Regions from separate parts of the Homo sapiens genome. Here region 1 is linked to region 2. The links are contacts of gene promoters, found by promoter capture Hi-C in blood cells and fetal thymus (Javierre and others, 2016). All regions are on one chromosome and are shown on one strand. Each heading gives the region's core, a stretch centred on a gene start or on the middle of the fragment in contact. The rest is flanking DNA. Distances are from core to core; before and after follow the strand shown. Region 1 overlaps MAX (MYC associated factor X). Region 2 holds the start of PLEK2 (pleckstrin 2).

Evidence for each region. The method cuts DNA at HindIII sites, captures the fragments that hold promoters and counts their contacts. A CHiCAGO score of 5 or more calls a contact.
Region 1: a fragment that was not itself captured here is called in contact with the fragment with the promoter of PLEK2 in region 2 in 1 of 17 cell types (M0 macrophages); the score reaches 5.5 in M0 macrophages.

Annotation. Positions count from the first base shown.
Region 1 is chr14:65,096,789-65,100,837 of GRCh38, reverse strand. All of the region lies in intron 2 of MAX (MYC associated factor X), which reads left to right. Among named protein-coding and RNA genes, the nearest start is that of MAX, 3.7 kb to the left of the region's middle. The HindIII fragment of the contact is 1,125 bases long and covers 2,089-3,213 here.
Region 2 is chr14:67,410,218-67,414,178 of GRCh38, reverse strand. It overlaps PLEK2 (pleckstrin 2), which reads left to right and starts at 2,014. Exons shown (of 9, transcript NM_016445.3): 1 at 2,014-2,161. The coding sequence starts at 2,120. It also overlaps a transcript of GPHN not described here. The HindIII fragment of the contact is 5,074 bases long and covers 1-3,961 here.

The DNA.
Region 1 (4,049 bases), core at 1,402-3,901, 2.3 Mb after region 2:
TAGATGGTTCTGTGGATTTAGATAAGCACTAATTCCATGTCTTTGGAGTCTGAGACAGTAATATGGATGTTTCATGAATAGATTTGAGGGAAAAAAGAATACACACAGAATAAATCAGAATCAGCGAGGGGAAGAGAAATAAGTATATCAGAGTGTCTAATATTTGATAGTTGGGAGCAGTAAGAAATGTATAGAATGGGGGTAAAAAGTTCAAATGCCCATGAGGGCCATAAAGAATAAAGAAGGAAGAGGTGAGGGCTTGGGTACTGGAGAGCAGTGCCTCTTCTAAAAAGTCAGCACTACTGAACTCCAGTGGTTTGTTAGTAGGAGTGAAGGGTCAGTATTGCCAGATCTTCCTATTTTTAATTTTATTTTATTTATTTATTTTTGAGACAGAGTCTCACTCTGTCACCAGGCTGGAGTGCAATGGCGCTATCTCGGCTTACTGCAACCTCCGCCTCCTGGGTTCAAGCGATTCTCTTGCCTCAGCCTCCCGAATAGCTGGGACTACAGGCGCGTGCCACCACACCCAGCTAATTTTTGTATTTTTAGTAGAGACGGGGTTTCACCATGTTGGCCAGGCTGGTCTCGATCTCTTAACCTCGTGATCTGCCAGCCTCGGCCTCCCAAAGTGCTGGGATTACAGGCATGAGCCACCACGCCCAGCCGATCTTCCTATTTTTTAAGAAAGATTAGAAATCTAAAACTTTATGTTATTTTTCTGATTTTTAAAATGATGTGTGGAACAACTGTTTGGGGGCTTGTTAGAATTTGCAGGATGTCACTTTGATACCTCTGGTATAAGAACTTGATAACCACAGGGTAAAGGCAAGCCATCTCAGTTATACCTGCTCTTCATTAGAGCAAGCAAAGATTGTGCAGGTTGTCTAAGCAGATAGGCATTAAGAAAACTTATTTATTGAGAGCTGATATTTCCATAAAATCCGGGGATGTAGTTGTTCCAAAAGTCTTAAAAATTATCCCTGGGTAATAGTCATTAAAGATAATTTGTTTTATTTTATTTATCCTTGAAGTATTCTCATATACTTATGCATATATTTGAAAATTGAATTCCTTTTTCACATTTACTTTTATCCTTCATGTTTGGGGCCTAGTCTGTTGAAAACTTTTTTTTTCCCTGCAAGTCTCCAGTTGTAAAATCTGTGCTAGGGCTTGATCAGAGCTGGAGGGTAAGGATCGTTTAGCCTTCCTTTGCAGAATTATCCTTTGAATTGAAATTATACTGACTTCCCAGTAAGAGAAAGTTGTGTTTTTTTTGTTTGTTTGTTTGTTTGTTTGTTTTTTTGGTGAAATTTTGGCTCGCAGTTCTTGAAAGCTTTCTGCTTTTCAAAATTTTCATCCATATGATCGTTGATATAAATTTGTTATTAAATTATTATAATGTTTCTGCTTTCCTGGAATGCTAATCTCATTGTTTTGTCTAGATGTTTTTAGTTTGCTGTTAAGGTGCCTAGGATTTTTCCTTTTGATTTTGGGGGTAGGCAAAGGAAGTTGGTTTGACACTTTGTTTTTAATTTAACACATCTATTTGTTGATATTTCTAAATATTACTCTGCACAATGTAATTACAACAGCATGGAGAGAAAAAGCAGATATGTTATAAACAAATTTTATAGTATATCAAACAACTATTGTGACTGTGTAGGGTAAAAAGGATTCCATTTTTTCCCCTCTGTGAATGCATCTGCTTACTTCTCAATATTTAATATGGATAATAAATATATTTTTTAAAATTTAAGAGGGAGCTATTCTTAAGTTTTGCCTTAGAAAAAAGGTTTAAAAAAAGATGTGGACTGTGAACAACCAAATACTTAGGTATTCAGGACTACAGAAGATGTTGAAAAAGTTATTTGAAAAGGGTTCTGTGGATCCTAATATAAAAACATTCATGTATGTTTTATAATGTCACTACAATATATAGGCCTTACTACATGAGAAATGTAAGATACTGAGAAGAGAGTTAGGAAGTTAGGCTAACTCTAACAGAAAGTGAAACTGATTTGGCAAATATTTTTTTCTATTGCTTCAGTACAAACGGAAAACAGCTTCTCCAATGGCCAGTAAGCTTTGTTAAAGGAAGTAACCCCAAAGAGTATTCTTACTACTAAATTCAGTACATCGCAAAATCCCACTGATGTTATTTTTATTATATTTTGGAGGGAAGAGGTTGCATTTTAAAGATAAATTTGTGGGACAGGTATATTATATTGCAAGGGCTTCCTTTTGCTTTATTTCTGTTTGGGAAATTTCTTTAGGAAAGAGTGTAAGTATACAGGAAATGTATGGGTTAGTGTGTTGGTCAGGAAATGCAATTTTTTTTCCAGTGACCATCCTTGATGGCACCTGACTGAGTTGCAGTTGCAGTATACTTGTGAGGGGTTTGAAAACAGATTTGTGCAATTCCACTTCTGGACCTTTCTGGCATGAAATATTTTTAACTTCTCAGAGCTCTTTGCTTCTTTAGGAATATTCAGAAGAGAACGAGCTTGGTAGCCTCCGAGATTGGAATTCACTCAGGAAACTACTGTCTGTTTTACCTGCAGTCAGTTGCATGGCAAAAGTGCTGCACAATGCATGTACTTTTTCTCTGCTTAGAGTGTTGACAGTGATGCTTACAGTGATAACAAATGCCAGAGTTAGTTCCTAAATGTGCCTGTGTTAGGGTAAAAGTTGTTCTTATGTCTAAAAGAATTTTTCCAAGATGCCAGTAACGGTGAAATAGTTGGTCAAAGAATTCAGCTTGGTTTTTAATTAAAATTTCCTGACCAAGGCATCCTTCTCTGAAATGGCTATAGTATGAGGCCCTGTTTGGATTATAGCATTTGCCAGTTATTTTAGGCACCAAAAGAAAAAAGTTTGAAAACAAATACATACATTAGATAATGTTGGAAATGTATACCAGGCAATCAGCTACAAGCAGGACAGGTATTGGAAAATTGAAATCCATGTCTTTCTCTTAGGGAGCTTGGTGAGTTTATCCCATCCTACCTGCCTATTATTTTATGTTATAATTTTTGGGTTGATTAAAATGAATATTTTAAGTTGCTTAGAAATTGAGCTTTATCCTATCTTGTTCTTATCTATCAGAAGTAAGAAATAGATCTTTTCGGATGAGATTTTTGGGTCTGTGTATTCTCGTGTCCTTAGTCTCTAATAAGAATAGCTTGATAAGAATCATAAGCAACACAAGCTTCCCTCTAAAATACAACCTTCACATTTTGTAAAGGTAGTAAATATTGAGTGGGCAACTAATTCCCTATATGCTGAGAATTTTCTGTATTAGAATTGAGATGGTTCCCCTTATAGGTGGGGTTAGCTGTCAGGTAGCCTGTAAGACATGGCATTGTTCTGGAGAACCTTGTGCATCCTGGAATAATGAAGCATTTATTTCCCCGTGCTATTTGCCTAGAACTTGGAGGAAATAAGATTACTGACTGATGTGATGCCTTGAACAAAGATGCAGTCTCTCTGCAGTAAGTTGGAAGGAAATAATTTTAAGAGATTTCCCTCAATTTTGAACAGACCTCCTTAGCCTAGATGACTTCTTGCCAACATAGCAACTTCTTGGCTAACAAAATAATGTTTGTCTTCAACATCTAACAACACTTAAGATACACGTGCTTGGTAGTGTCAAAGATGGACAAATTGTAGGTGAAGATTTTTATTCTGTCTACCAGTGTGGAAAGTTGGGTAGAAATATAACTGAGAGGCTGAATAAAAACTTTGGCAGAGATGTCAAAGCTGGAAGTGATTTGGTGCGGGAGTTTCTGTTGAGCATCTGTGGACCACTGCATAGCCCCTTAGTATTTCTGTTAGGGATGCCCTGGAGGAAGGGTTTTCTGGCAGACATCCAGACGTACAAATCCAGCGTACTAGAAGAGTGGGCAGCATCCAGCCACTGTAACCATAGGATGTGTAGGGGAGATGTTTGGGAGCCTGCTGTACAGTCCAAGAATACCTCTGTGGTCTCCTAGAATAGGGCCTAATTAATTCCACAAGGGGGTTTTCCGTACCATTTGTTTTCATTA
Region 2 (3,961 bases), core at 765-3,264:
CAAGAACCCCTCCTGCCAAAGAAAATGCCACTTCTTCTAAGCCTCAGAAGATTGTGTCTGGGTGGGGCCAAGACAGCCTCTTTGAGGAAGGAGATGGATAGACCACAGTTAGAGCCGAAGAGGATGAGAACTTCCCAGCTCAACCTCTCAAGTCCTGGCTTTCAGCCCAGCTAGGTTTCAGAGCTGGGACAATTCCTTAGGAGGCAAGAGTATTTGCAATGCCCTGGAGCTGCATAACCTTGGGCAAGTTATTTAACTACTTGGATTCAGTTTCCTTGACTGGAAAATGACATAATAAACACCTCATGGGGTTGTTGTACTTTAGATAAAACCTAGCACCTACTACTACAGGCCTGGCTTCAGAAGGTGACCAGCTGATGTTCATTCTGAATTGGAATGGAAGCCCCACTGCTTTGGGGCTTCCTGGGAAGTCTGAAGGCCAGTTAGTGCAGAAGGCTAGAGTGGGCCATTGGGCTGGCACGCAGTGACCCAGACCCTGCGAGTTTTCCTTGGGGCTGGCAGGTGGGAGTGGGGTTGGGGGGATGTAATATGTCTACTACAGACATGTAGAAGCAACACTGTGTCAAGAGCTCCAGGGCAGGGACTGGCCTGGGAGCTGGCTTCAGTCTGGTTCTGAAAGGCACCCCCCGCCTTCCACAAGCTGGTTCACCTTCTTCCTCTCTAGAGCCTTCTCTTCCCTTACAGGCATCTGAGGGCCTTTCCCATGCCTGGTGAAGAGTCCTGACAGGGCCCTTCAAACTGGAGCACAAATAATATGGACCGGCCCCATGACTCATGCCCACAATCCCAGCACTTTGGGAGGCTGAGGCAGGAGGACTGCTTGAGCCCAGGAGTTCGAGACCAGTCTGGACAATATAGTGAGACCCTGTCTCTATAAATAAAAATAAATTTTAAAAAAATGTGTGACTGTGTTCTAAGGATTGTTAGACAGAATCAGTACTATTTGACTGAGTTTCCTTCTGTTCCAGGCTCCAATATGGCCTGATAGAACATTGTTGTTGATCCTATCTATTTAAAATGTTAGCATTTTGTTCATCGTGGATTTTTTGACATTAATTTTGATTTTAAAAAATGCATTAAAATATTATTTTTCTAGGTCTTACACGGTGGCTCTTGCCTGTAATCCCAGCACTTTGGGAAGCCCAGGCCGGAGGATTGCTTGAGGCCAGGAATCAAGACCAGCCTGGGCAACATAGCAACACCCTATCTCTACGAAAAATAAAAATAAACCAGCCAGGCATGGTGGTGCACTCCTGTAGTCCTAGCTACTTGGGGAGCTGAGGCAGGAGGATCTTAAGCCCAGAGTTTAAGGCTGCAGTGAGCTATGATCACACCACTGCACTCCAGCCTGGGTGACAGAGAAAGACCCTGTCTCAAAAAACAAACAAAAAACCCCAAAAAACCAATCATCTCTCTCTATATATAATTTGTCTAGGTTACTGGACTCCTTGGTGCCCCCTTAAATTTTGTCCTTAATGATGGAATTTTCGGCTTCATCTTTTTTGAGGGAGCGGGGTATATCCTGCGGACAGGGGGCCCTGCAAACTGTGCCTGCCGCCTTAAAACTGTGACCTTCCTGTTACTGAGAGGTCTTCTCTGCCCCCATCAGAGGCCAGGATAAAATTCCCATACCAGTTTCGGCTCACCCACTGTCCCATCTCCTACTTGCAATGAGCTCAGGAATGGCTCCAAATCCTGGAGTCCTGTCGGTTATGTTCAATTCGATAAGCGTTCCTCGAGGGCAATGCGCTAAGTGCCCGGGAAGCACCTGGCGAAGGACGCTGAGCAGAGAGACTGGAACAGTGAGGGGCGCGGGGCGCACCTGGATGGGGCGGGGTTGGCCGCTCTGTACCTGGAGGACCAACCACCGACCCTGGAGCACCTTTGGGTGGAAACGTCACGTCAGAAATCCCGACTTGGTCTGACTTCCTGCCCCGGGGCCTCAGGCTCTGGACACGCGCCAGGGAGGCGTCGCCCTGCCGCGTCGGAGCTGCTTCCTGGGCGCCGTGGGCGCGGACTGCGCGGGCTGCGCGGGTGCCGAGGAGCGCGAGGCGCGGGGAAGGCGCACCTGGGGTGGCCCTGGCGTGCGGGCGGCGACATGGAGGACGGCGTGCTCAAGGAGGGCTTCCTGGTCAAGAGGGTGAGTGCGCGTCGAGCTTCGGGACATTGCCCGGGTGGGGCCCCGCCGACGCGGCTCCCTAGAGCGGGGCCAGACGCGCGCCCCGGAACGGGCATGCTCTGGTTCCCATCCCCAACCCCCATGGTGGGACCGGGCCGCCTGTGGCCCTGATGGGCAGAGCTGCATGTCCGAGGGGACGCGGGGTAAGCGGTGGCTCAGCGCACAGGCAAGGAGGAGAATCCCACTTGGTTAGCGCAGTATGGAGTCGGGGCAGGGGTACTGAAGCGTGTGTCTTAATTAAAACTTGTTAAAATATTATGAATGGTATGATATTTAAATAATATTTACTAAGATAATATAGGCGTGCTCTGTAATTTACAACCTGTGAAGGAGGAATGCTACTATGTGTCTTAAGCACTTACTGTTGGCCAGCCCTGGATATTGTCTCATGTCATCCTCCCAGCAGCCCTGCTTTCATCAAGGGGGAAAACGAAGCCCAGAGGAGTTAGGGAACTTGCTCGGGGCGGTGAAGGCAGTGGGTGGTGGAGCCAGGATCGGGATCAGACCCACTCAGGTTGACCCAAACCTTTACTGCCTCCCCAGTGCCATACACGGTGGGTACTGACATCACTCTATTACAGACGGGGAAACTGAGGACCAGAAAGATGAAGTAGCTTGCCCAGAGCTCCAGAGCCAGTAATAGCTGGGACAGGAACTGCATGTTCTGACCTCCCCTCCTCAGTCCTTCCCCACCACCCCAGGTGGCCCAGGGCAAACGAGTGCAAACAAAAACTCAGTGCCTGGGATTATGGTAGAAGATGAACAAAAGAGCAGCTGCAAAAGGAAGTTTGTTATTTCAAAATTTTTTCCTGATTTGACCTTTTTTTTTTTTTTTTTTTTTTGAGACAGGGTCACCCAGGCTGGAGTGCAGTGGCACAATCCTGGCTCACCACAGCCTCGACTTCCCAGGCTCAGGTGGTCCTCTCACCTCAGCTTCCCTAGTAGCTGGGACTACAGGTATCCACTACTATGCCCAGCTAATTTTTGTATTTTTTTGTGGAGACAGGGTTTCGCCATGTTTCCCAGGCAGGTCTTGAACTCCCGGGTTTAAGTCATCTGCCCACCTTAGCCTCCCAAGGTGCTGGGATAACAGGCGTGAGCCACCACACAGAGCGTAATTTGAACAATGACATTAACACTAACCATTTATACTGCTATGATGGCATAGCAAAGAGACATATAAATCCAGGGCTGAGCTTTCTGGTTCTTCTACTGAGTTTTCAGCTTTGGGAGGGGAATGAAGAGGGATGAGGGGCCCTTCCTTTCATTGCCTCCCGGGGTGGCTGGATCAGCCCTAAAGTCTCACATCACTTTCATTTTCCCCACAAAATGTGTCCACATGATGTTGCACGTTATTTGGTACAGGAGAGCGGTGGCTGTTTGCTGTAAACAGTAAGCAAGGAGGGTAGAAGCTGATGCCAGATCAAGGGTCAGACTGGATAGAGCAGTACAAAGCGCCACGCCCACTTGCCACTGTGGCTGAACTGATAGGCCGGTTTCTCGCAGCATGTGGAGGTGGCTGCACCTCAGACTACACATGGGGAGCTCCTAATCTCACATTTAACTGCGGCTTGGGAGGTGGGAGGGAGAGTGAGAGCTGGGCACGGGGCTTTTTGTTGGCACTGTTGATATAGCTGGGCCCTGGTAGAGCCTGTGGAGGGATGAAGTTAACATGGAGACAGATCCTTCTGATAGAGCTTTGGGAGTTTTGGAGGCCTTCTCCTGTTCCTGGGGGTTACCTTCCATCATTCCCTATCACCC